Regions from separate parts of the Homo sapiens genome. Here all the other regions are linked to region 1. Evidence: promoter capture Hi-C in human tissues and cell types (Jung and others, 2019). All regions are on one chromosome and are shown on one strand. Each heading gives the region's core, a stretch centred on a gene start or on the middle of the fragment in contact. The rest is flanking DNA. Distances are from core to core; before and after follow the strand shown. Region 1 holds the start of KCNE3 (potassium voltage-gated channel subfamily E regulatory subunit 3). Region 2 overlaps PPME1 (protein phosphatase methylesterase 1). Region 3 overlaps P4HA3 (prolyl 4-hydroxylase subunit alpha 3). Region 4 overlaps P4HA3 (prolyl 4-hydroxylase subunit alpha 3). Region 5 overlaps POLD3 (DNA polymerase delta 3, accessory subunit). Region 6 overlaps POLD3 (DNA polymerase delta 3, accessory subunit). Region 7 overlaps PGM2L1 (phosphoglucomutase 2 like 1).

What was found. Contacts are between HindIII fragments. The study calls those that stand out against the background at their distance.
Region 2: a contact is called between a fragment that was not itself captured here and the fragment with the promoter of KCNE3 in region 1, in 2 of the 25 tissues and cell types used here (IMR-90 fibroblasts and aorta).
Region 3: a fragment that was not itself captured here is called in contact with the fragment with the promoter of KCNE3 in region 1 in 6 of the 25 tissues and cell types used here (IMR-90 fibroblasts, aorta, dorsolateral prefrontal cortex and 3 more).
Region 4: a contact is called between a fragment that was not itself captured here and the fragment with the promoter of KCNE3 in region 1, in 3 of the 25 tissues and cell types used here (IMR-90 fibroblasts, dorsolateral prefrontal cortex and mesenchymal stem cells).
Region 5: a fragment that was not itself captured here is called in contact with the fragment with the promoter of KCNE3 in region 1 in 3 of the 25 tissues and cell types used here (H1 embryonic stem cells, bladder and thymus).
Region 6: a contact is called between a fragment that was not itself captured here and the fragment with the promoter of KCNE3 in region 1, in 1 of the 25 tissues and cell types used here (heart right ventricle).
Region 7: a fragment that was not itself captured here is called in contact with the fragment with the promoter of KCNE3 in region 1 in 2 of the 25 tissues and cell types used here (dorsolateral prefrontal cortex and liver).

The regions. Positions count from the first base shown.
Region 1 is chr11:74,465,868-74,469,242 of GRCh38, reverse strand. It overlaps KCNE3 (potassium voltage-gated channel subfamily E regulatory subunit 3), which reads left to right and starts at 1,694. Exons shown (of 3, transcript NM_005472.5): 1 at 1,694-1,845. The HindIII fragment of the contact is 14,037 bases long and covers 1-3,375 here.
Region 2 is chr11:74,234,393-74,237,767 of GRCh38, reverse strand. PPME1 (protein phosphatase methylesterase 1) reads right to left here. Exons shown (of 14, transcript NM_016147.3): 8 at 1,802-1,867. Among named protein-coding and RNA genes, the nearest start is that of PPME1, 65 kb to the right of the region's middle. The HindIII fragment of the contact is 5,319 bases long and covers 1-3,375 here.
Region 3 is chr11:74,270,467-74,273,841 of GRCh38, reverse strand. It overlaps P4HA3 (prolyl 4-hydroxylase subunit alpha 3), which reads left to right. Exons shown (of 13, transcript NM_182904.5): 10 at 235-297. Among named protein-coding and RNA genes, the nearest start is that of P4HA3-AS1, 39 kb to the left of the region's middle. The HindIII fragment of the contact is 5,625 bases long and covers 1-3,375 here.
Region 4 is chr11:74,295,797-74,299,171 of GRCh38, reverse strand. It overlaps P4HA3 (prolyl 4-hydroxylase subunit alpha 3), which reads left to right. Exons shown (of 13, transcript NM_182904.5): 4 at 811-960. Among named protein-coding and RNA genes, the nearest start is that of P4HA3-AS1, 14 kb to the left of the region's middle. The HindIII fragment of the contact is 3,038 bases long and covers 1-2,988 here.
Region 5 is chr11:74,617,125-74,620,499 of GRCh38, reverse strand. It overlaps POLD3 (DNA polymerase delta 3, accessory subunit), which reads right to left. Exons shown (of 12, transcript NM_006591.3): 6 at 1,696-1,963; 7 at 411-483. Among named protein-coding and RNA genes, the nearest start is that of POLD3, 26 kb to the right of the region's middle. The HindIII fragment of the contact is 4,717 bases long and covers 1-3,375 here.
Region 6 is chr11:74,600,742-74,604,116 of GRCh38, reverse strand. The region is part of intron 2 of POLD3 (DNA polymerase delta 3, accessory subunit); the gene reads right to left. Among named protein-coding and RNA genes, the nearest start is that of POLD3, 9.8 kb to the right of the region's middle. The HindIII fragment of the contact is 5,133 bases long and covers 1-3,375 here.
Region 7 is chr11:74,331,833-74,335,207 of GRCh38, reverse strand. PGM2L1 (phosphoglucomutase 2 like 1) reads left to right here. Exons shown (of 14, transcript NM_173582.6): 14 at 1-3,375. All of the region lies in intron 2 of LOC112268078 (a long non-coding RNA gene), which reads right to left. Among named protein-coding and RNA genes, the nearest start is that of P4HA3, 22 kb to the right of the region's middle. The HindIII fragment of the contact is 3,435 bases long and covers 408-3,375 here.

The DNA of each region.
Region 1 (3,375 bases), core at 445-2,944:
TAAATGCAAGGCCGTGGGCAGGATCTGAGAAAGAACCCTGACCAAGCCAGGACTGCTTCCTCATGGCTAGTCTCAAGAACCATTTGCATCAGAGTCATTTGGAAATCTTGTTTGAAAATGCTGATTTCTAGGCTCTACTCCAGATTTCCTGAATTAGAACCTCTGGAGTGGAGCCCAAAAGTCTACTTAGTAAAACAAGCTCCCCAGGGGATTCTTAGGCAGATTGAAAACTGAGGTTGCAGGATGGGCACAGTGGTTCATGCCTGTAATCCCAGAACTTTGGGAGGTGGAGGTGTGCAGGTCACTTGAGCCCAGGAGTTCGAGATCAGCCTGGGCAACATGGAGTAACCCAATTTCTATAAAATACAAAAATTAGCCAGACATAGTGGTGTGTCCCAGTTACTCAGGAGGTTAAGGGAGGAGGATCACCTGAGCCCAGGAGTTCAAGGCTGCTGTGAGCCATAATCACTCCACTGCACTCCAGCCTGGGTGACACAGTGAGATCCTGTCTAAAGGAAGGAAGGAAGGAAGGAAGGAAGGAAGGAAGGAAGAAAGAAAGGAAGGAAGGAAGGAAACTGAGATTGCATGCTTAGGTGATTAGGATGACTTTTCTGAGAGGTGATCTCCAGACTGAGAAAAAGGAATAGTAGGGTCAAAACAAGGTGGGTACAATATACCCACCTTGTATATTGTATACAATATACAATATACCCACCTTGTAGTAGGTCTTTTTAAAACGATAGCACTTCTTAGATATATTCTGGGATTCTGTAATTGAGAGTATGTGCTTCAGATATCCTGGAGCAGACCTTTGCAAGGGAGTGAAAGAGCTGGCCTGAGGCTGTTATTAATTATTCTGAGGCAGTGAGCTGGTAAAAGGGCACCCCACAGGGTCCCCCGGAGAAATTCTCTGCAACTGTCCCTTCCTCTGCCACTAGCCTCCTGGCTCTTATTCCTCAGCTGCCCCGGCTGCCCCAGTTCTCTGAAGCCTGCAATGTCACCAGCAAGGAAACAACAGTTTGAGTGAGGGCATGGTGGTGGGAAAATAAACTGTTCTGGGACAGAGATGAGTAAGGTGCGGCTGAACACAAGTTGGTCAGGCACTGTCACGAACTTTTGAGGCTTGGTGGAGGAAACATTTGCTGGTGCTACTCAGAGACAGAGGGGTGTGTAGTGGATTTTGGGTCTGGGCTCTGCTACCTGGGCAAATCCCTTCTCCAACTGGGCCTCTGCGTCCTGTGTGGAAAAGAGTTTGTGTAAGAATCATATTATTTTGCTGTTGACCCTTTGGTTTTAATACTTTGGACTCAAAGGTCTCATCTGACCTCAACCATAAGCCTGTGAAGAATGCATGGAGGAACTGTACCAACTTTACAGCCAGGCCAAGGCCCAGTGAGGGGCAGCGACTCGCCCACCACCACACAGCCACACTGGAGCAAAACCGACTCCTGGAGATCGGCCTCATGCTGGGCTTGCTGAGGCCCAGCGGAGCGAGAGGCTTTCGGTCTCTGGTCCAGGAAGCAGGCGCTGCAGGGGACGGAAGGGTCGGAGCCCACAGCCGGGGGAGGCCAAGGAGCTGGGCGGAGGCACTCCAGGCCAGCCCGGGGAGAAGTGGGTGTGCTGGGGCCCGGGCGGGGCAGGGGGAGGGGACGCCCGGGGGAGGGAAAAGGGAGCCGAGCGCGGGTGGGAGCCCAGAGCCAGAGAGCGCGCTGGGCGGTGCTGGGCACCCGCGGAGTGGAACGGGGCTGGTGGAATGCACAGGGTCGCAGCGCTTGGGCCACCCTCGGTCAGAGGGCGCCGTGTCCAGCGAGCAAACGGGCGCCCCGGAGCCTTGCTGAGAGGCAGGTAAGGCACCCACCCAGCTGGGAAGGCTGAGCTGCGGCCTGGGGTGGAAATGAGGGGTCTTCCCGCCTCCCTTCCAAGGGCCACGGCGCGCTCTCCGTGAGACTGTGGAACCGAGGGGGAGTGGGGGAGGGGTGGGCGCTGCAAATACCAAGCTAGTCCTCCCGGATCCTCCCCGATCCTCCCGAGCGCAGTGATCGTGGAGCAGCATGTGGGAGTAGGGAGCTGGGCTCTGCGCGCCCCGTCTGGAAACCGTGGGGACTTGCGCCGTTATTCCCAGCCCTCAAGACGGCCACAAGAAAAGTTCCTCCACACCCACAGACGTGCAAGCGAACACTTGCAGCTGGCAGCCAGTGCACACGCAGAAACGACATTTCAGGACCCAGCACAGTCTCATTTGGCTGGAGCCACCGGCTCTGCGGAGCTGACTTGCCCATTCCCTCTACACCTCACTGTGTCCTTCACCCTGTCTGACCTAGTCCCGGGAAACCTGGTGACTCCCAAAAGCATCTTCTGCTGCCAGTAACATAGGTCGAGGCTGGGAGTCGGGAGACTTGAGTTCTAGTTTACAGGCTGTGTAAACCCGGGCAGTCATCCCTCAGCTCTGCGCCTTGTGCTCGCTTTTCCTGGGCCACCATTTGTAAAACGGGCCTCCTGCTCCTGTTGCCTGCATACCCCATGGGACAGAAGGGGAAAGGGGGATTGGACCTCAGAGTCTCTTATCTCGAAAATAAATGAGTTTAGTTCTTGCGTGAAAGCCCACCAGAGTATCCCTCCTAAAATCCTCTCCACTAATTTGCATATAGGGAAACTGATGCCCCAGGGGAGATGATTTACCTAAGGTTACAACAGAGACCAAACAGAATTAGAACCCAAGTTTCCTCAGTCCTAGCCCAGGGCTCTCTCCACTTCACCTACAAAGGCATGTTGTAAACGTGTGAGCTCCTCCTTATTTCCTTGCATCCGTCCACTTTGTCTGTTCCTGATGGAGGAAGACCCATGCTGGGGGCCTAGAAGCTGCTTTCAGATTTTCTTGACTCCTTGAGATGATAACCATCACCTTCTCCATCCCTCACTCAGTCTATACGTCTCAAAGCACATCCATAAACTTAATGTGCGAGTGCTCAAAATACCTTCTAAGAGGGAAGCAAGACAAGAAACTCCATCTTACTGATGAGGAAAATGAGGCCTAGAGGGATATAGACTTAGAGTGATAAAGTTACTTAACCAAAACGCACGGCTAGACGTGTTGGCCTAGTAGGGGCAGGAACCCAGGTCTCCTGATTCCCCCTCTGATGTGTTCTCCACCAGCTACAGGACTACAGAATGGTACCCCTCAATGATAAGGGACTGCGGGAATGATCATAGAGGGTAGGAAACAGGAAGGCTTCTGGAGAAGGTGAGGTTCCTGGGAATCAAGAAGAATAATAAGAACCTCCTGGCTGCTTCTGAGGCTAGGAGACCTGGAGTGGGAAAGGAGACACAGAGATGGTTGTTCTTGGTAATATGGGGGGAAAGGAAAGATGTGGAGAC
Region 2 (3,375 bases), core at 530-3,029, 230 kb after region 1:
TGAATCTCAGCTATGTCATCCACTAGCTATGTGATCTTGGGAAACTACCTCTCTGAACTTCTATTTCCTCATCTATAAAGCAATACTTATCTTAAAGAGGTATTGTAGGGATTAAATGAGATAGTGCAAATGAATTAATGAATCTAGGTAATAAACATCAACGGCTCCTGACATTAAAAAAAAAGAGACAATTGGCTGGGCATGGTGGCTCACGTCTGTAATCCCAGCACTTTGAGAGGCCGAGGTGGGCGGATCATGAGGTCAGGAGATAGAGACCATCCTGGCTAACACAGTGAAACCCCACCTCTACTAAAAATATAAAAAATTAGCCGGGCATGGTGGCACATGCCTGTAGTCCCAGCTACTCAGGAGGCTGAGGCAGGAGAATTGCTTGAACCTGGGAGGCAGAGGTTGCAGTGAGCTGAGATCGCGCCACTGCACTCCAGCCTGGGCGACAGAGTGAGACTCTGTCTCAAAAAAAAAAAAAAAAAAGACAACCAGACATTATGTACTTCCTGATGGCAGTACGCAACATCACCTATCAAGTATTCTTGCAAACAAAACACCTGAACCCGATGAAGCTTCTAGATTTAACTATTTACACAGAATATAAGGAACAAAGGAATATGTTAAATTATGGCCTGAGAATTCAATCAGCAAATCCAGATCATGGGAAATTCTATGGGGCAAACAAGGTTTCCTCAAGAAATAAATTGCAAGGAATCAAAAAAAAGAGGGAGACAGAAGTGGAACCTTAGATTAAAAGATGCATGAGAGGTGGATCAACCAATTGCTATCTACTTATTTTGATTTTGACTTTAATTGTAAAAAATTATTTATGAGACAATCAGAAATGTAAATATTGATTAGATATTTGATGATATTAAAGAATTGCCAATTTTTTTACGTGTAATAATGTCATCGTGATGATGTTTAAAGAGCCCTTATTTTTAGATCATATGAAAATCTTGCAGAGGAAATTATATTTGTTTGGAATTTGCTTCAAAATATTTTGTGACTAGGGGAAATACATAGGGGCACAGATGAAACAAATGAGACATGGTTATGGGTTAATAACCATTGAAAATGGACAATGGGAACACTGGGGTCCATCCACTGTATCACTCTTCTTTTATATGTGCAAAATTTTTCCATAATATAAGGTTTTAAAAATGAGACAGTGCATATAAAATACCTTGCACAGTGCCTGGCAAATAGTAAGCACTCAAAGCCATTATCATTTTCATCTAACTTCTGTCTGTTCTGTTGGGCAACATTTTCTCAATTCATCTAAAGTTTATTTTGTGACTATACAGCAATACCCAGAATGCCATGTAATTCTATCAGGAAAGATCAATTGGGCTAAATAATCTTAGCTCACTCTTAGAATCTGGCTTTCACTCAGGCTATGCCAGAGCTTTTTTATTATAATTCCCTCACAGCCAGGTTTGGCTTAGAAGGAGACTGTTACTAGAATGAAACTCAGCTGCTATCACTAAGGTTAACATAATTTGTAATGTCTATGCTCTGGGATTTGCTTTTTAACACGCAGAGTTTTGCTAAGGTAATCCAGTATTAAATGAGGAGGAAAAAAAAGAAAGGGAAGGAAAGGAAGGAGAGAAAGGAAGGCAGGCGAAAGAAAATCTATGTCTGTCCCAACTGAACTCACCTTTAAAATTATTTAAAATAATAAAGGCATTTACCGGAATGGTAGAATTGGTGTAAGACAAAAGAAGCAATCTGTAATTCCCTCACCATGTTTCCGCCTCTAACCAGACCAAGGGGGAAGAGTAAGACCTACTGTTTGACTTGGCCAACCATTGAGACACGGGCAGACTCCAGATTTCGAATCTGGCCACTCTTCACACTGGGAAAGAAAAGAAAGGAAGAGAGAAGGTTATTCAGTATCTATTGTATCACATCATTGGAATCAAATAAATAATTCTACAGATTATGTGAGACCTAATAAAAAGTAGTGATCACCAGTGTTTCTTACTATAGAGATTGCCACTATTACTCACCTGGCTACATGGTTTTATAAGTAAAAATTAAGTAAAAACATCATAGCCATTTCAGTTCTGCAGATATTTATCAAGAGGATACTAGGTGCCAGGCCTGTATTCAAAAAGCACATAATTCGGTAGGGAGAAAAAGACACATATAATGTTAATATAATGAGGCAAGGTTCAAAGAAAGCACTTGAACATGAATGAGGAGGTCAGAGAAAGCTCCCCAGAGGTCACAGCTAAACTGAGGAGTATAGATAACAAGTTTAACCAGAAAATAAAAGAGGTTGGTTAGAGCATTCTAGGCAGAGGGCACATTATGTACAAAGGTGCTGTGATGTGAAAGTCGGCAGGATAATGATTTTAGAGAACTGGGTGCAAGGAGAAGCAGGGAGGAGATAAAAGGGGAGCGTGACAGAATAGGATTGGAAGGCAGGCGCCAGCTTCTCCAGGGCCTTGTGTGCCGTGCTACAGGGCTTAGGCTATCTGAATAAATTAGTCTTCTCACATTTGTCCACCTAAGTACAACTAAGGCAGAGCAAAATGACTGCATTCCCAGGGTGAACTGGAAACACTGCCTGAAGCAAGCCACTAGGAGAAAGCACTTCTTTAAATCTCATTTCTTAGTTTAAAAAATCATTCAAAATTTTAAAGCCCCTCTCCTCAGATAATGACATGATTTCTTACTTTAATGGTAAACCGAGGCAATCAGAACTATTACCTCATCTTTTAACTACCAAATGAATCCACAAATTCACCAATACTTGTAATAATATACTCTGCCTTGATGCCTGTTTAATACATGAAATATCTATTCCTATCAAGGCCAACCTTGGGCACTAGTTCCCATCCCCTCTTGCTTCTGAAAAGATACTCTTTCTTTCAGTTATCCTGTCTCTCTTCTGTGTCACTTTTTTTCTCTCGTGGATGTCACAAGCATACTCCATTATCCAGCCTTTAAAAACATTCCCAATGCCACATTCACTACTACCTATTACTCCATTTCTCTGCTCTCCTATACAGCAAAGCTCCTCAAAAGAGTTATCTTGCTTTCTCTACTTTGTCACCTCTCATCCTTTCCCCAACTTATATATGATTTTTATATCCCATTTATTTTCAGATATTTATTTTGTCAAGGTCACCTCTATCATGCCAATTCCAATGGTCATTTCTTGGTCCTCATCTTACTTGATCTCTCTGCAGCATCCGACACAGTTATTCTCTCCCTCCTTCTACAAACACTTAATATACTCACCTGGTTTTCCTTTTATCTCATCAACTGTGCCTTTTCAGTTTCTTTGTTGGATCTTCCTCTTCTTCCCAAGCTCTAAATATTGTGGAATATCCCAAGACTCAGTCTTGGATCTTT
Region 3 (3,375 bases), core at 240-2,739, 200 kb after region 1:
TCTGTTTGGTAGTAGACAATTCTTTTATATAAGTATCTAATAAATTAGTAAAAAAAAAAATTGTATTGAGTACCTGCCAGCAAAGACGGGCACATACTCCAGTAGGTGTATATCAGAACTATATCCCATCTTTGATGCCCCCATTTTACTTCTATTTGTATTAATAGTGGAATCCTGCCTGTCCCTCTGGTGCCATCTGCATAAAATAATATGTTCTGTTTTTTTTTTTCTCAGTCACCAAGCAGCCCCCTCTACAGAATGAAGTCAGGAAACCGAGTTGCAACATTTATGATCTATGTGAGTATTGCTCTGGGCTTCTTACTTCATGACTGACTATAGCTCTACTTTATTTTATTGTTTTCAAAGCAATTTCACGTATTGATTTTATCTGGTACTCAGCGCAAAAATCTCCAGGAATTTTGCGAATTTCAGACAGCATTTTTGATAGGCACTGTAGGAGATGTAAAGAAATACAAGACAAGGTTTCTACCCTGAAAGAGGCTGACAGTGTGTAAATCTAAATATGACCTTGGTATGGGCAGTGGATTAGGATGGGAAGTGGAGCTCCACTGAAGGCCAAGAGATAGAGGGACTTGAACAACACAGGAGGAGGATCTGAGAATCTGTGTCCTTGAGGTCTCATGGACTAATCAGTGTTGAAAAACAACCCATAGATGAGGTTGTGGGGCTGTGGGGAGGGAGATGGATGAGGAATGAGGCAGCAGATTTACAAGAGGGAAGAACAGAGACACTGAGAGAAATTCAGCAAGTGCTGCCTCTGATGTTTAGTGAAAATTCTCTTCCTTATCTCTCTATAAAATCTTCAGTAAAATCTCCATGACTCCCCTTTCAAGATAAACCAATAAATTGTACTTCTCTCCTAATTCCTGGCCTGATCAGGATTCGGCCCCAGTCTGTATCATCTCACCTGTCCCCTTCCCTTCAGATCATGTGGGTTTACTTTCGTCTCTATGGACAAGCTTCCAATCACCTGTCACTGGAAGAGAATATTAGAATTAATCACTTATTAGAAGAGATACCTTACTGTTAACTGAAGGGACAAACATATATAAGGGTTCTATATAACAACCAAAGATGAAGTCCTTGTTTCAGCCTCATTAGAATAGCAGACATCCCTCACCCCAGCTTTTCCTCTTCTATTAGGACTGTCTCTGGTCTCCACAGGACAGCCAAGAAAGGGCAGTCAGAGGCCAGCATTCTGTGTAGTCTTTAATGCCAGCAATTCCAGTGTGTTTCTCTATGTGGCTCAGTTCTGTACTTCCTATGGAACTGGAAGGCTTCCACTTACAATGGTGTCTGGCCTCATTCTGATCATTCTGAGGTCAGCTATCAGGCAGGGGACACATCTTGGAGCTGCAGTTGGTTGCATCTCTGGTTGACCACTCCAGCTGTTATGGGAGGTCACAAACGGCGAAAGAATGAACTGCTGCCAAAAAACAGGGCATCTAGGGCACAATATATCTCTGTTCTTTATCCCCTCAATATCTCCTATGGCTGGTTCCCTGGTTACAGGGCCCCAGTTACTATAGCGAAGGTAGCGTGGGTATAAGAGCCCAGTAATTTTAAATGGCAAATGCATGTGTGTGTGTGTGTGTGTGTGTATGTGTGTGCATGCACTCTCATGCACTTTCACATGTGTGTGCATGCATGTGCATTTGGGTTTTAAGTATTTGAGACAGAGTGGAATGGAATACACTTTGGATTTGGAGTCAGTTGACCTAATCCTGATTTTGCCACTTACTATGTGGCCTCAGCACAGATTACATCTATTATGTGAGCTCACTTTTTGCCCTGTGCTTCCTCACAGTGTTGTTGTGAGGGTCTGATGAGATAATGTAAGGAGGGATGTCACTCTGGAAAGTTCCATACTGTATGTTTCTGTCATTGTATCCCACAGAGCAATTAAAGGAAAGGGTATCATAAAGGGGAATCAGTATCATGGGACCAGGGAAGTGCTAGATTATGCCCAAGTCTTTCATCTTCAGGTTGGGATTTCTCGAGACAATTTCAAGACAAACATTTCTCAAGACAAATGTTAAGGTTTGTGGGAAACCTAAGACTGATTTTATAGGGAGAAAATAATCTTTAAGAAGTACAGAGGATTGAGTTGAAGTCCAGTTGGTGATTTTCTGCTCAGATTGGACATAAGATCAGTCCCAATCTGGGTGCGGTGGTGTGCACCTGTAGTCCCCGCTACTTGGCAGGCTCAAGCAAGAAGATCGCTTGAGCCCAGCAGTTCGAGTCCAGCCTGGGTAACATAGTGAGACCCTGTCTCTATTAAAAAAAAAAGATCAGCCCCAGTACAAAATAGTAGAAGGTATACAGACGGAAGATTTCTCTCCCTTTCCCACTGTTCTTACAGCCCATGCCGTGCTCATGAGCTTCATTGCATGCAGAATCCGATTTTCTTTTTAATGTGTTGGCTATGTCATTCCTTTCCACCATATTGTAAAACCACAGGTAAAAGAATGCAGGAAAGTCCAGGTTGCCCCTTACTGACAAGGGCTAGAATAGAATAATCTAATTTGTTACCTGAACACAAGGAGCCAATTGTTGTTCTCATCGGCTTTCCCAGTGTGCTACAGGGAGAGCCAAGGAATGCTAATAGTCACCACTGCCATTTCCAGGTTCCAAATCACCATGTCAGTTCACTTGCATCTACCAAGGGCCAGCGTCCTACCTCCTATACCTCTTGCTCTGTAACACAAGTAAATGTACCGGGATCTGACTGCCATAAGATTACAGAGCATGAACCTTCTGGTAGATAATGCTAGGCAGCGTGAGGTAAAACTGGCACTCTTGTGTGATGCAACTGCTGAAAAAATAATTTAGCAAAATGTATAAGAAGTATGAAACTTATGCATGTCCTTTTGACCCCATAATACTAGTGCCAAGACTCTTTCCTATGAAAACAATCCAAAATGCAAAATGATTTTTTTTCATTAAGTTGTTCAGTGCAGTGTTGTTTATAATAGTAAACATTTGGATATGACCTAAATTTCCAAATGTGTAGCATGATGGTTATGAGCAGGGACTTTGTAGTCACATGGCACCAGCTCAGCTCAAATCCTGACTCCATCATGGAAGAGCCATGTGACCTTTTATAAAGTGCTTAAGCTCTCTGAGACTTGGTTTCTTTATCTGTAAAATGTGAAGAGTTAAAAATAATAACGATTGTAACTCCTAGGATTGTTCTGAGGAATAAATGAGATAATATATTTGCAAGGACATAGTGTAACTTTTAGCATATAGTCAGTGCCCAATAAATGTCAACTATCACTATGTAAACTATAACTTTTTTCTGGATGGTACAATGATAATTATTGTTATTTAAAAATATTTTCCTGTTTTAAA
Region 4 (3,375 bases), core at 220-2,719, 170 kb after region 1:
TTTAATACAGAACAGATCCATTGAGCTTCCATAGCGTTCCCATGTCTACCTTCATTATGGTGTCTAATGCATTGTGTTACAATTATTGGCTTACTCATGTGCCCCGTCTTGATTTAAGCTCTTACAGGACAGGGCCACTAGGCACATAGAAAATACTTAGTAAATATTGAATAAATGAATGAATGAATGAATGTAATCCATTCTTCACATTGCTACCAGCAATATCTTCCTAAAAATATGACATTCAAGACTGTAATTTGCTTAGCCCATGCTGCTGTTTCAAGTTTACTTTTTGTTTCTCTTCACCCTAGCTACAGCCACGATGGACTACTTGAACACATTCTTGCTTTAGATTTCTGTTGCTGCCATTCCCTCATCTTAAAATGCTTTTCTTCCCAGTCTCTGCTCACTGATATCCTTTTCCTTCTTCAAGGAAGGCCTGTCTCAGATGCTACCTCTTGCATGAAGCTTTCTGAGATTCCCAAGTCTCCTCCCTTCCCTGTGCCACCACAGCATAGTATACATTTTCTTTGGAGCACTCATGATATTCTGTCCCAAATTAGAGTTAATTGAGGTCATGTTCTCTTTTCCTTCAGATTATAAATTCCTTAAGTGCAAGAACCCTTATGTCTCCTCTCCACGTAGTACAATGCGTTGTATATAGTAGATGCTTAATAAATTGAATTAAAATGAATTTGAAATTAAAACCTGCCTTCTTGGATTCCAAAGTCCCTCTTATTCTTTGAATTGTCATTTTCTTTTTCTACCTGTGGAATAAGGCTTTGGCGATGGTACTTGTGTTCTGTGTAGGTGGCCTATGACATGGGGGATTATTACCATGCCATTCCATGGCTGGAGGAGGCTGTCAGTCTCTTCCGAGGATCTTACGGAGAGTGGAAGACAGAGGATGAGGCAAGTCTAGAAGATGCCTTGGATCACTTGGCCTTTGCTTATTTCCGGGTAAGGGAGTAAGTGAAGCTCACTGCTTTTATTATACTAAGTGAAATCCTTTATAGCTGCTTTACAATTTCTAAGTATTTTCATGTCTTCATCTGTTTCATCTTCCCAATAGGACCAAACTGAGCCAAGCAGGGAAGTTATTTTATCATTTCCATATATCACATGTGAGTAAACTGAATCTCCAAAAGACTATTAACTTGTCACAAAGCTTATAGACCTAGGATTAGACTGTTAGTCCAGTGCTCTTTCCAATGCATTGACTACTTTACAATCATTATTTCCCATGTAGGAGGCAGTTTGTCACCTGTAGCAGCAGCTGCTTTATTCACAAATAGTTAATGGGTTCATAATAAATGTAGATCACTCTTTTGTGCTCTCAGCAACTCATAATTCATCACAGATATTACCCATAATATTGCCATGGACAAAGAAGTTTGATTATGAGCTTTTCCCATCTGCAGTTGAGTCCAACTGTAATGTGACTCCTGTCTGGTTACAGAGCTGGAGTCACTGTTCTGTAGTACCAGCCACAGTGCCTCCTCCAGGTGTTATTTTTCCTTGGCACTGTTGATCTACTTACTCCCTGTTGTGCCTTATATAGAAGTTCATTTCCCTAAATAAAGCAGCTGCCAATAAACAAAACTAACCAATAACTGGGTAAGGTATAGCTTTTGTATAGCTAACCCCATTTCCCACCCGAGTTGTACAGTCTTCAAGGGTAGGCTGCAAAAATCTCCATGGAACCAGTTCCCTAGAGTTTCCAAAACTAGTAAACCATTTCTGCTCCCTACCTTTTTTTTCCTTTCCCCATTTTCTTGAGAAAGGGGAGGAGGATGTGGGTGCTCCAAACCCATGTGTTGCTGCCCAAACAGATTTACTCTCAGTGCAGCAAACAGTCCTGTTCCTTTCATGGAAGTTCCTGGCGAATGGATCTTTGTTGTAAAACTGTGTATGTGTTGGCCGGATGTGGTGGCTCACGCCTGTAATCCCAGCACTTTGGGAGGCTGAGCCGGGCAGATCACCTGAGGTCAGGAGTTCAAGACCAGCCTGACCAACATGGAGAAACCCCATCTCTACTAAAAACAAACAAAACAAAAACAAAAACAAACAAAATTAACCGGGTGTGGTGGCACATGCCTGTAATCCCAGCTACTCAGGAGGCTGAGGCAGGAGAATCGCTTGAGCCCGAGAGGTGGAAGTTGTGGTGAGCAGAGATCGAGCTATTGCCCTCCAGCCTGGGAAACAAGTGAAACTGCATCTCAAAAAAAAAAAAAAAAGAAAAAAAGAAAAAAAAAACTGTGTATGTGCTCTTCCTAACTCTCCTGCTAAATTGCTGTGTGTTAAAGCCAAACAGAGTAACTGTGATGTAGGAAGGGGTGAGAAGTAATTGAGTTTTAATAGAGGAAGGAAATGGAGATTCGACATGGAAAGACTCAGAGAAGAGAAACTAAAGCAGCTTACCCTGAAAGACGGAGTTTCAAATGTTGTACCCAATTATTGATTAGTTTTGTTTTGTTTCCCTCTAACTCTGATGGCTTGGATTTCTCTTCTACTTGCTTTCCACATCCTGTTTTGTCTGGTGAAATCCTGTTTATGTTACAAGGCACACCTCGAATGTCACCTACTTTGTGAAGTCTTCCTGAGTTCTCCTCACTCCCCAGGCTTTCCTCCTTGGTGGTCTTACAGCATGTTTTTATTCCCCAGTAACAGAACACATAAGGCATTATCTTATAGATGGTTTGTGTTCCTCCTCACCCCCTAGTAAATTAGAAGTAAATGTCCCTGTGGACCTTTCATTATCACATAAAATTTAATGTATTTTATTTCATTATATATTTTAGTAAAAAAAATTTTAATAACTGCTAATAATGAGAGATGGTAGAGTACAGTGGTTAAGCTATGGGCTCTGGAATCAGACAGTCCTGGATTCAAATGCTGTGAAAACATAGGCAACTTATTTAGCTTCCCTGGGCCTCAGTTTTCTTATTTGTAAAAGAGGAATAATGATGCTCACCTCAAGTGGGTTGCTGTGAGGATTGAGTGAGCTAATACAGGCAAAGCCCTTAACAGAATGCGTGCGTGGCACATGCTACTTACTGGATAAATGTCAGTTCTTATTACATGATACATACATATATATGTTCTCTTTTCATTTAATGTTCCTTAGTGTACCTATTTCCAAAGAAACTTAACTGAGACACTGAAAGTAACTCTTTGTTCTTTGTAAAATATAATTTTACTTTATTACAAGACTCTCAAGTTTTAGAAATATGTGAAATTGTATTTTGGTTCTTTTCATCTCACGAAGAGTTTGAAAAGCTATGACCTTGAGTTAATATTTGACATTACAAGATATTCATAGATTACTCAAGTATTCCTTGTTAAATGTAGAACAGAGTAATTCATGATATCAAA
Region 5 (3,375 bases), core at 392-2,891, 150 kb before region 1:
GTGGACCCTTGAGAGATAGAAGAAATAAAGGTCACACCAGGCAAACTGACTCTAGCATCCACGTTATTAACCTCAACACTATACTGCGTAGCCAGGCAGCCTCCCTTTTATTTTAATCACCCATTTTCAAGGGCCCTATGAAGCAAATAGTTCATTATCTTTTCAAGGCAGGAAGTTAAACCAGGAATAATAAACTGCTCTCAAAGAGATCTCAACTGAGCCTAACTCACCCATAAAGTTCTAGCTGAGTTACTTTCATCAATATATTGGGCAGTACACTGGAAATTTGTTAGAATGCAGGTAGTCTCTTGGATTGGCAAAAACTAGACAAAGTGGCTTTCACTTCAGGTATAATATGTCATTACATTAACATTCATTCGTTAGTCAAAGTGAGGTAAGAACATGCTTACTCATAGCAGCTTTTCCAAAAAAGTTGCTCATCATATTCCCTTTCCCTGGTGCCTTGTTGCCTGCTGCAGATGCCTACAAGCACAGAAAACACATATGATTTTTTGCTGGCATTTAGGCTGTTCATGAAGTAGCAGTCTCAAACAAACTCTTCTATAGCAAACTGTTGCGATGGTATAGTCTCTATATAATCATGCCAAAACGCGTAGGTGTTAGATATAAGAACAAATCTAGAACAATAATCCACACCAGACAGTAACTGGTGTTAATCTCTAAAGCTTAGTTTCTTATATATCTTATAAAATTAATTATCCATGGATATAGCTAAACTTTTCTTGAGCACATTTAAAAACTATTTAATTTGACAGAATTAAAAAAGATCAGAGGCAGTATGTACACAAAGCGGGAAAACCTAAAACATTACATTTTTAATCATCAGAAGTAGATCTGAATTCCTGGTTCCCACCATTTAGTAGCAATATGGGCTCCAGGCAAATTACTTAAGTCTAGGTTTCAGTTTTACCATATGCGAAAGGGAAATAGTTAATATCTCCCTCACAGAACTGATAAGAGGATTTAAACAAAGACACTGGCACACAGTTGAAATTCAATAAACGTTAGTGTTTTCCTCCATCCTTCTTCTTTCCCAAGACAGACGCTTGAAAATGACAGTGATCTGAATTAAATACACTTGACACTGGAAAATGACAGTGATAATAATAATAGTAACAACAATAATTATGCTTTTCTGGATTTTTAAAATAGTATCTTAATGATACTTTTCTTAAGTCAATGCCCTTGAGTTAGTTCAGATGACTGAACAATAAAAATCTAAGAGAAGCAAATAAGGCAAAAACAAAACAAAAAAACCTGCATAAAGTATAAGAATGGGAAATACACTAGGAAGGAAGGTATATGTTGCAAAGCCCAGAATATAAGATGTTCCTCAGAAAGACATATTGCAAATAAACATTTTTTTGAATGTCAACAATTCTCGAGGTGTTTTCACATGTTTTCATCTGGGTTTCACAACAATCTTGTAATGTGCACAAGGTAGGCATTACCATTTTGCAAAGGAAATCCAAGGTTTGGTGAGAATCATTATCAAAAGCAAAAGAACTCTTTCAGATAACAATATCAAGTATTAAAGGGTTCAAACTAAAGTAGAAAAATCAGAACTGAATATCAGAATCTTATATAAATAAACTACTACCACTGCAACCATTAATGCTTTTCTAGTTACCCACTCTGAGCTGCAATGAAGGGGTATCTTCAAAGAAGACTTACATTTGTTACTTCTTTAGCCTCTGTTTTCGTTTCCTTGTTGGTTTCTTGGGTTTTAGCAGCAGCTTTGGAGGCAAACATTCCCATAATTCCTTTGGGCTGCTGGGAAACCTGCTTGGATGCAGGTGGGCCATGACCATTGGTGGTCAGCTCATTGTTGGCTTGTGTCTCACTTGACATGTGAAGATGTGACTGCTCAAACTTTTTGGAAGACGAAGAGGATTCAGCAGGAGCTCTAGGGACGGCAGCTGCACATTGTATAGCACTAAATCTGGGGACAGAAATGTTACATTAAGTTAATGTCAGCATATGCATTCTTGGGTGGTTCAACAAAAAAAGAAAAAAAAAACTAATGTCAGTATAAAACTTTATTTTCAAACTCTTGCTTCTTCCACACAATACTTAACTCTAATATTGTTTAGAATCGACTTTAGAAAAATGTATGAAACTCTCTATTACATAAAGAAACAAATATTAGAGAGAAGTGAGTCACTTTTACTAGGTTATACATCTAGTTAGTAATAGATAGGATTGGAATTAGGTGCCTTCTACCACTAATTGAATATTCTTGTTTTTGATAAAAGTATTCTAATTCAAAAGAGTAGGAATGCAACCAACAATAATAAAAGATGCAGTAATTTCATTATCCTTGGGAAATGAAATAGCCTTTGTTTTTAAAGACCTTCCTCTGATAGGGCTAGATTTGCAATATTGACTGAATCAAAACTAAGCTTTAAATATTAACAAATTTCCTGGCAACTCTCTTGGCCAGAGTAAATCATGCTGTAGGGTTGGGCGCATTGGCTCACGCTTGTAATCCCAGCGGTTTGGGAACCTGAGGCGGGCGGATCGCTTAAGCCTAGGAATTTAAGATGGGCCTGGGCAACATGGTGAAACCTTGTCTCTACAAAAAATACAAAAATTAGTTGGGTGTAGTGGCGCATGCCTATAGCCCTGATTACTCAGGAGGCTGAGGTAGGAGGATCACCTGAATCCAGGAGGTCAAGGCTGCAGTGAGCCATGAGCTCATCACTCAACTCCAGCCTAGGAACAGAGTGAGATGCTGTCTCAAAATAAATAAATAAATCATGCTTTAAAACAAAGAAGAGGCCAGGTGCAGTGGCTCACGCCTGTAATCCCAGCACTTTGGGAGGCCAAGGCAGGTGGATCATGAGGTCAGGAGTTCAAGACCAGCCTGGCCAACATGGTGAAACCCCGTCTCTACTGAAAATACAAAAATTAGCTGGGCGTGGTGGCACGCGCCTGTAGTCCCAGCTACTCAGGAGGCTGAGGCAAGAGAATTGCTTGAACCCAGGAGGCAGAGGTTGCAGTGAGCCAAGATCACACTACTGCGCTCCAGCCTAGGCGACACAGCAATACTCTGTCTCAAAATGAAAAACAAAAAAAAATGGGAGAAGCTGGAAGCAGAGCCACTGGCTCCTATAACCTATAGTCCTTTACAGCCATTTGTTAATAATTTCTAATAATACTAACAGCACCGGACAAGTAAGTATGCCCAAGGCCAAGAGAAGAAAATTGGTGGAACAGCTTGTGTGGCATATTAAAGGGAACATACATCTCTCTCTAATCATTATAGAAGTGCCGTTTCACACAAATCCATAATGTAACATTCCACATTGTGAATGGGTAATTGATTTAGCCTTCTCAAAGGATTGTACTTAA
Region 6 (3,375 bases), core at 319-2,818, 140 kb before region 1:
ATCACAAATGTCCAGCTCTGAAATTCCAATTTTATGATTACTCAGATTTAATGCCGGTTCAGAATTGCAGAATGTAACAGCTTACTCACATTGCCCAGTATTCAGAATAATTCATTAACCTGAGATAGCCAAATACTAAATGCAGAAATAATGTTGCTTTTAGTAAAATCTCTAAATTCATTTTTACTCTATGATCCAGCAAGTATCAGAAGTTGGCTCCCTTCAATAATCTAGTTTAAAAACAACAAAGAGACATGTCTTTTATTTTGAGAAACATTTACAATCTGTCTATAATATACTTCTGCCAAGCATAGCTAGAAATTTAAAAATCCCCAGAGAAGCTCAACCTACATTGCTGTTCACTCTCTTCTTGAAGAGCCTGCTCTCTCAGCTTCCATAAAACCATGCCCCACTGAGTCTTCTGCTACCCCTCTCACTGCTTCTGCTTTACTTTCTGAAGAGACTTCTCTACCTCCTCCCTTTCCTTAACTGTTGGTATTCTGTCTTTAGCTATTTTTTCACTCTATGTATTAGAGTGACTGACCATTCCTGTCTGCCTGGGTCTGAGGGGTTTCTTGGGATGTGGAACTTTCAGTGACAAAACCAACCATCCTGGGCAAACCCAGGGTGGCTAGTCACCCTACTACATATTTTCCTCGGTTTATTTCATCCATCTCTGACAACAACATCATCTGCTGAAACCACGCAAGCCAGAAATCTGGGAGTCATTATACTTCACTTCTTCCTATCCAATGAGTTGCCAAGTCTCATCAGCTCTCCTTCCCAAGTAATTCTTGACTCCATGCCCTCCAAATCTCTTGACTAGACTATTTCAATTCCAAGTATCAATTCCTCTTCTCCTCCCCACCTCACCTTCATTATCCATGATGCTGCCAGAGTGAAGTTTAAAAAATGCAAATCAAGTCATTCAATCAACAAAACTTTACCAAGTGGTTACTTTATGTTCTACGCCTTAGGGACAGAACAGTGAATAAAGCAAAGTCCACTCTTAGAGCTTACATTCTAGAAAGGAGACACACAATAAACATATAATATATAATCTCAGATGACAGTAAGTCTATGGAAACAAAGTTAAGTAAGTTAAGGAGGACAGAGGGTGCCTGAGAAGTTTTGCTATTTTATATAAGGTGATTAGGGAAGGCCTCATTAGCAGAGCCCTGCAGGGAGGGAGGGAGCCAGCAAGGTGGATATCTTGGGAAACAATGTTCTAGGCAGAGAGTCCAGCAAATACCAAGGTTCTGAGGCAGGAAGGTCAGCAAGATCCAAGGAACAGAAAGGCCAGTGTGCTGTAGTGGAATAAGGACGGTAGTAGGGGAGAGAGGGCAGAGTGCCAGGCACATAGGGCTTTGTGGCTACCACAGGACTTTAAGAAGCCATTAGAAAGTTGAGAGCAGAGGTAATGTGATCTCACCTTTCAGAAGGATCTGAGAAGGTTATGTGGATGATATACTGTAGAGGGGCAAGGGAGGAAGCAAGACCAGTTAGGCTATTGCAATAACCCAGCCTAGAGATGACTGGTAGCTCAGTTTGGGGCAGTAGCAGTGCAGGTAGTAATTAGTGGATGAATTCTGGGTATATTTTAAAGTGAGAAACAACAGGATTTGCTGATATACTGTGTTGAAGTGTAAGAGAAAGAAGAGTCAAAAATGACTGGACTAGGCAACCCAAAGAAGGAAGCTGTAATTCACTGAGATGGGGGAAAAGCAGGAAAAGCAGGTGTTGAGGGGAGAAGTCAGGAGTTAGGTTTGGGGGCATATTAAATTTGCAATGCCTATTAGTCACTGTTGATGTTGAAAAGGTTGCTAGAGAGTCTTGTCTGAAACATAATTCCTTGTTATAAAGCTTTCAGTAGCGCCAGGTGTGGTGGCTCACGCCTGTAATCCCAGCTCTCAGGGAGGCAGAAGCAGGAGGATAGCTTGAGCACAGGAGTTCAAGACCTGACTGGGCAATATAGCGAGACCCCATGTTCCACAAAAAGGGAGGAGAAAAAAAAAAGTGTAACAAAGCTTTCAGTAGCTTCTCATCCCCTAAGGATCAACTTCAAATCTCTAGCAATGACAGGTAAGACCCTTCTTGTTCTGGGCTCTGTATCTCTGACCATTCCCCATCATACCTACACTATCTTCATCCTTAATGAAACATTCTACAATTCTCTTTATTCCTTTGTATATGCCCTTCCTTCTGCCTAGAAGGCTCTTCTCAGGCCTCAACTACCTAATTTCTCATCAAGACAGCAGCTCAGTTGTCACCTCCTCTATGAAGTATGAACCCTTCCCCAACACCATCAGGTCACCAGGGCACATCTTTTTTTTAAGAGATAGAGTCTCACTCTGTCGCCCAGGCTGAAGTGCAGTGGCGCAGCTCTCTATAACCTTGAATTCCTGGGCTCAAGCCATCCTCCTTCCTCAGCCTCCTAAGTAAACAGGACCACAGGTGCATGCTACCATGCCTGGTTATTATTTTTTCTTCCTGGTAGAAACAGGCTTTTGTTATATCTCCCAGCCTGACCTCGAACCCCTGCGCTCAAGTGATCCTCCTGCCTTGGCCTCTCAAAATGCTAGGATTACAGGAGTGAGCCATCATGCCTAGACAATGAGCTTCTGCCATCCAAGCTCTAACAAATTTTATCCCATATCTATTATTACAGCACATATCACCCTGCCTTCTAACTATTTATTTTACATATGACGCATCCCCTCTAGACTGTTAACACCTTGAGTACAAAAAGGTGCCCTAGTCAGGATTTTTGCTGATTCCTCCTCTTTGCCCTCTAATGTTTCTTTCCATTACAACAATTGTGTTAGAAGGATAAATGAGCTAACAGATCCACAAACATTTTGGTTTATTGATGCTAGTTTGGACCATGCTAAAGGAAGACATGATAGGCAGGTACCATGCCCAAAATGCTTGCAAGCTTGCTGGCCAAATGCACTATCTTTTATCCACAACTAATAGTCCTGCCCATATCATCAGTCATTGTCCTCTATGCACTTGTCTCCCCAAATTGACCCCAGTTCTTCTCTCTTATATTAACAGAAAATGCAAAGCAAACTCTTATTTTAAAAAACAATTCTTGTGGCTGGGTGCGGTGGCTCACACCTGTAATCCCAGCACTTTGGGAGGCCAAGGCAGGCAGATCACCTGAGGTTGAGAGTTTGAGACCAGCCTAACCAACATAGAGAAACCTCGTCTCTATTAAAAATACAAAATTAGCCGGGCACATGGTGGCGCATGCCCGTAATCCCAGTTACTCGGGAGGCTGAAGCAGGAGAATCGCTTGAACCTGGGAGACAGAGGTTGCAGTGAGCTGGGATCGTGCCATCACACTCCAGCCTGGACAACAAGAGCAAAATC
Region 7 (3,375 bases), core at 876-3,375, 130 kb after region 1:
TGAGATTGCAGTGAGCCGAAATCACGCCACTACACTCCAGCCTGGGCAACAGAGGGAGACTCCATCTCAAAAAAAAAAAAAGTCACTTTTGGCTAATCATGCAGTCTTCTGAAAAGGTTTAATAGAGAAATGCTGTTTAGGCTGGGCTTGGTGGCTCACATCTGTAATACCAGCGCTTTGGGAGGCTGAGGCAGGAGGATTGCTTGAGGCCAGGAGTTTAAGTTACAGAACTATGATCACACTGCCGCACTGAAGCCTGGATGACAGAGTGAGACCTTATCTCAAAAAAAAAAAAAAAAAGAGAGAGAGAGAGAAAAAGAAATGCTGTGTTTAATCTTCTTAAAATGTATCTTGTCCTACATAGTTCTCAGAATACATATGGGGTATAGTTAGGAGATAACAATAACAAGACCTAAACAAATTGCTTATGGGAGATAGCACTGTAATTAGAGAATTTATTTCATATAAAATAATAATATAAAGTTTGAACTGATTAGAATGTTCCTTAAATCATGGTTTCGTTTGTTGCAGCTGTCAGCTAACATTTGGTTGAGCTCATATAATCCAAACCTAATTGTCCAACTATTGTATTGCCACTATTGTTAATTTGTTCCTTCCTTACTTTCTTATTGTTGGATCTTATATGACTGTATGACTGTAGATAATAGACAGCTAGCTAAATGTAGAGCACCATTTTTCTCAATGAGTTTGTTTTCAAAGGCTTTGCACTGGAGAAGATATGTGTAGAATTTTTGTTTTATTTTTAAAATGTGTAAAACATCTTTTGTTTTATATGCTTTTAAGAATGTAGATTGTAATTTAGGAAATGGCATATATTCTGCAAAGTGGTATAATGTTGTATATATGAAAAACAGGTATATTTGGTTTAGTTCTGTGTTTCAGTGACTGATAAACAAAAATGAAGCTAAAATGAATCAACGGCTCATTCATAGTTACTAAAGCCATGTCATGACTGTCATTCTATTATGAAGAAAACAGTTTTATTTGAGTGCTTTAATATAATGCAACATTTAAGTCATCTTAAGGTGAAAAGTTATTGAAGTGTTCTTCTCTCAAGTTAACAAAATTTTACAAATGTTCCTGAAGTGTATCGATTGAGGGAATTATTTTATTCTAGCCTGTCATGAGTCTGTCTGAGCATGATACTTAACATGAACTTGATGTAGTAGGTGCACATTTGCCTAACAGGATAAATTCAGTGATAGCCCAAGCTGGTCAGGAGAGACAGAAGTGCTGGCTAGGAGGTCTCAGCCTCGGGCACTACAATGTTTATCTTTTTCTTTTTGAACAATATTGTGAAAATGATTGCATTCTCATTGAGCATGAAAGTCAAAACTGGAATTTTCTAAAGCTTTGGAGAAAAGGAGAGAATTAGTAGGGCAAGATCAAAGCATACATTGGAAATAAACAGTAGAAATAAGCAAACAATATAAAGAGACACGGGAAATGCTTCTCGTGAAGGGCAAATGTAACACCATAACAGTAGGGAATAAACTGTGTCCCACCTGTTTACTTGTGTTTATTTGTTGTTATGATGAGTATGCACCTACCATTTTCCTTTATTGTGATCACTAAAATGAGGCCAAGGTTTAGGAGGTGAGAAAAAGTATCCCTTTTACGGATTCAGTTCCTGCTAGGATGTTGTATCAGAATCATGTGAGAACTCAGGAAGAGGTAGAGCAGAAATAAAAAGGAAGAAAATGTAGATTAGAAAATAAGACTTCTGAGAAAAAGTTCAAGGAATAAAGATTGTTTGACTCTGGAGAGGAGAAAGCTGTTGAGATAGTTTGCTAAGTTTGCTAATAAAGCTTTATTGAGTCTTTTATTGAAGGGTTCAAAGTAAGAAATACTATGCCATAGTGTTCTCCATCTCTAGTGAAGACAGAACCAGAGGGAATAAGGATCTTTTTTTTAAAGACAGCATGGAAAGTTTAAGATTTAGGAACTTCTTGAGAAATCTTCATAATATCTTCTATTCAAAATCTTTTTTTTATTTTTAAGGGAATAAAAATTTTAAAAATTAAGAGATATACAGATGACTTTTTAAGGGTCCTTCTTTCCAGCACATTTTTTTTAAAAACTCAGGTTAGAACAAAAATGTCATAAAGGGCACTAAAAGTAACATTTGGGTTTCACTCCATATCTAGAAGAATTTAGCTCACAAAACAATTTTTGTGTGTTTTGAGTAACTGATGCATAAGTGCAATGAATAATTTTCCTGCTTCACTGTTATTTTTAATTTAACCTGGCAAATTAAGTGAGACTTGAACAAAATTTTGTTCATCTTGAAGAATGTATAGTGGCTTAGGTTATTTGAGGTTTTCGTTTTGAATATATATGTTGTTATTTTGATGTAGATACGTTAGCAGATGGAGAGGTTCTAAGAGATTGGATACTTTGGAATGTCTTTATATAGGAAATAGACCTCCCATTTCTTAAGCAAGTTGCTTCTGGAATTGATGCAACAGGGATATTAGCTGTAGTTTAATGGATAAGTTGTTCTATGAGCTGCTGCTATCAGTACTTTTTTCCACATTTTCCATTGATATTTGTGATGCTTGAAAAATCCAAACTTCACTTGGATACATTTAATTTTATGCCTTTTTCTCTCTACCTCCCACTTTTCCTAGGCACCCTTGCACATTTTGTTACTGTGAAGGACTATTGCCCTGTTACCTCACTGATAAGAAATCTCAACTGTATTCATTCAGAATGCTTTAAGCTTAGTCATAAACTACATTTGCCTATGGACCTTTGGTTATTTTGTTAATGTTGTCATTATATTTAAGACTTATTGTAGGAAGTAATTTTAAATCTATTTCATAACCTGTTTTGATCTGTCTGCATACTGCTATATGTTAATTTATTACGGCCTTTTACAATTCACTTGTCATCTGAGATTGTTCTAGAAACTGATGAGGAAAGAGTCGTACTAACCAAAATGAATGGGCAATTGACATAACATTCTATTTCAGGTTTCCTTGTACTTGGGGAGCCAAAGCACAAGATCTAAGGAAATCTTATTCACATTTGTCCCTCAGAGCATCTTACCCTAAGCCATAGAGGTATAAATAGTAAGATGAGAATTGCTCATTGTCTGACTCCTTGCACAGCATGAATTTAATTCTAGTTGGAAACAAAGTTAGTGTTGACTACTGGTTACCTTAAAGTATTCACCATACTATATATTTATTAGACCATCTTTCCTCTTTGTTTATTCAAGACTATGTACTTATAAAAGAGAACCTATAAGAATGTGTAGAGTGACCAAATAGGGACAAAGTGACATACCTAGAGTTTGCTGCTCAAATTTTTCCACTAGCGTAACCCTAAAGCAGAGGGGCATGATGAAGG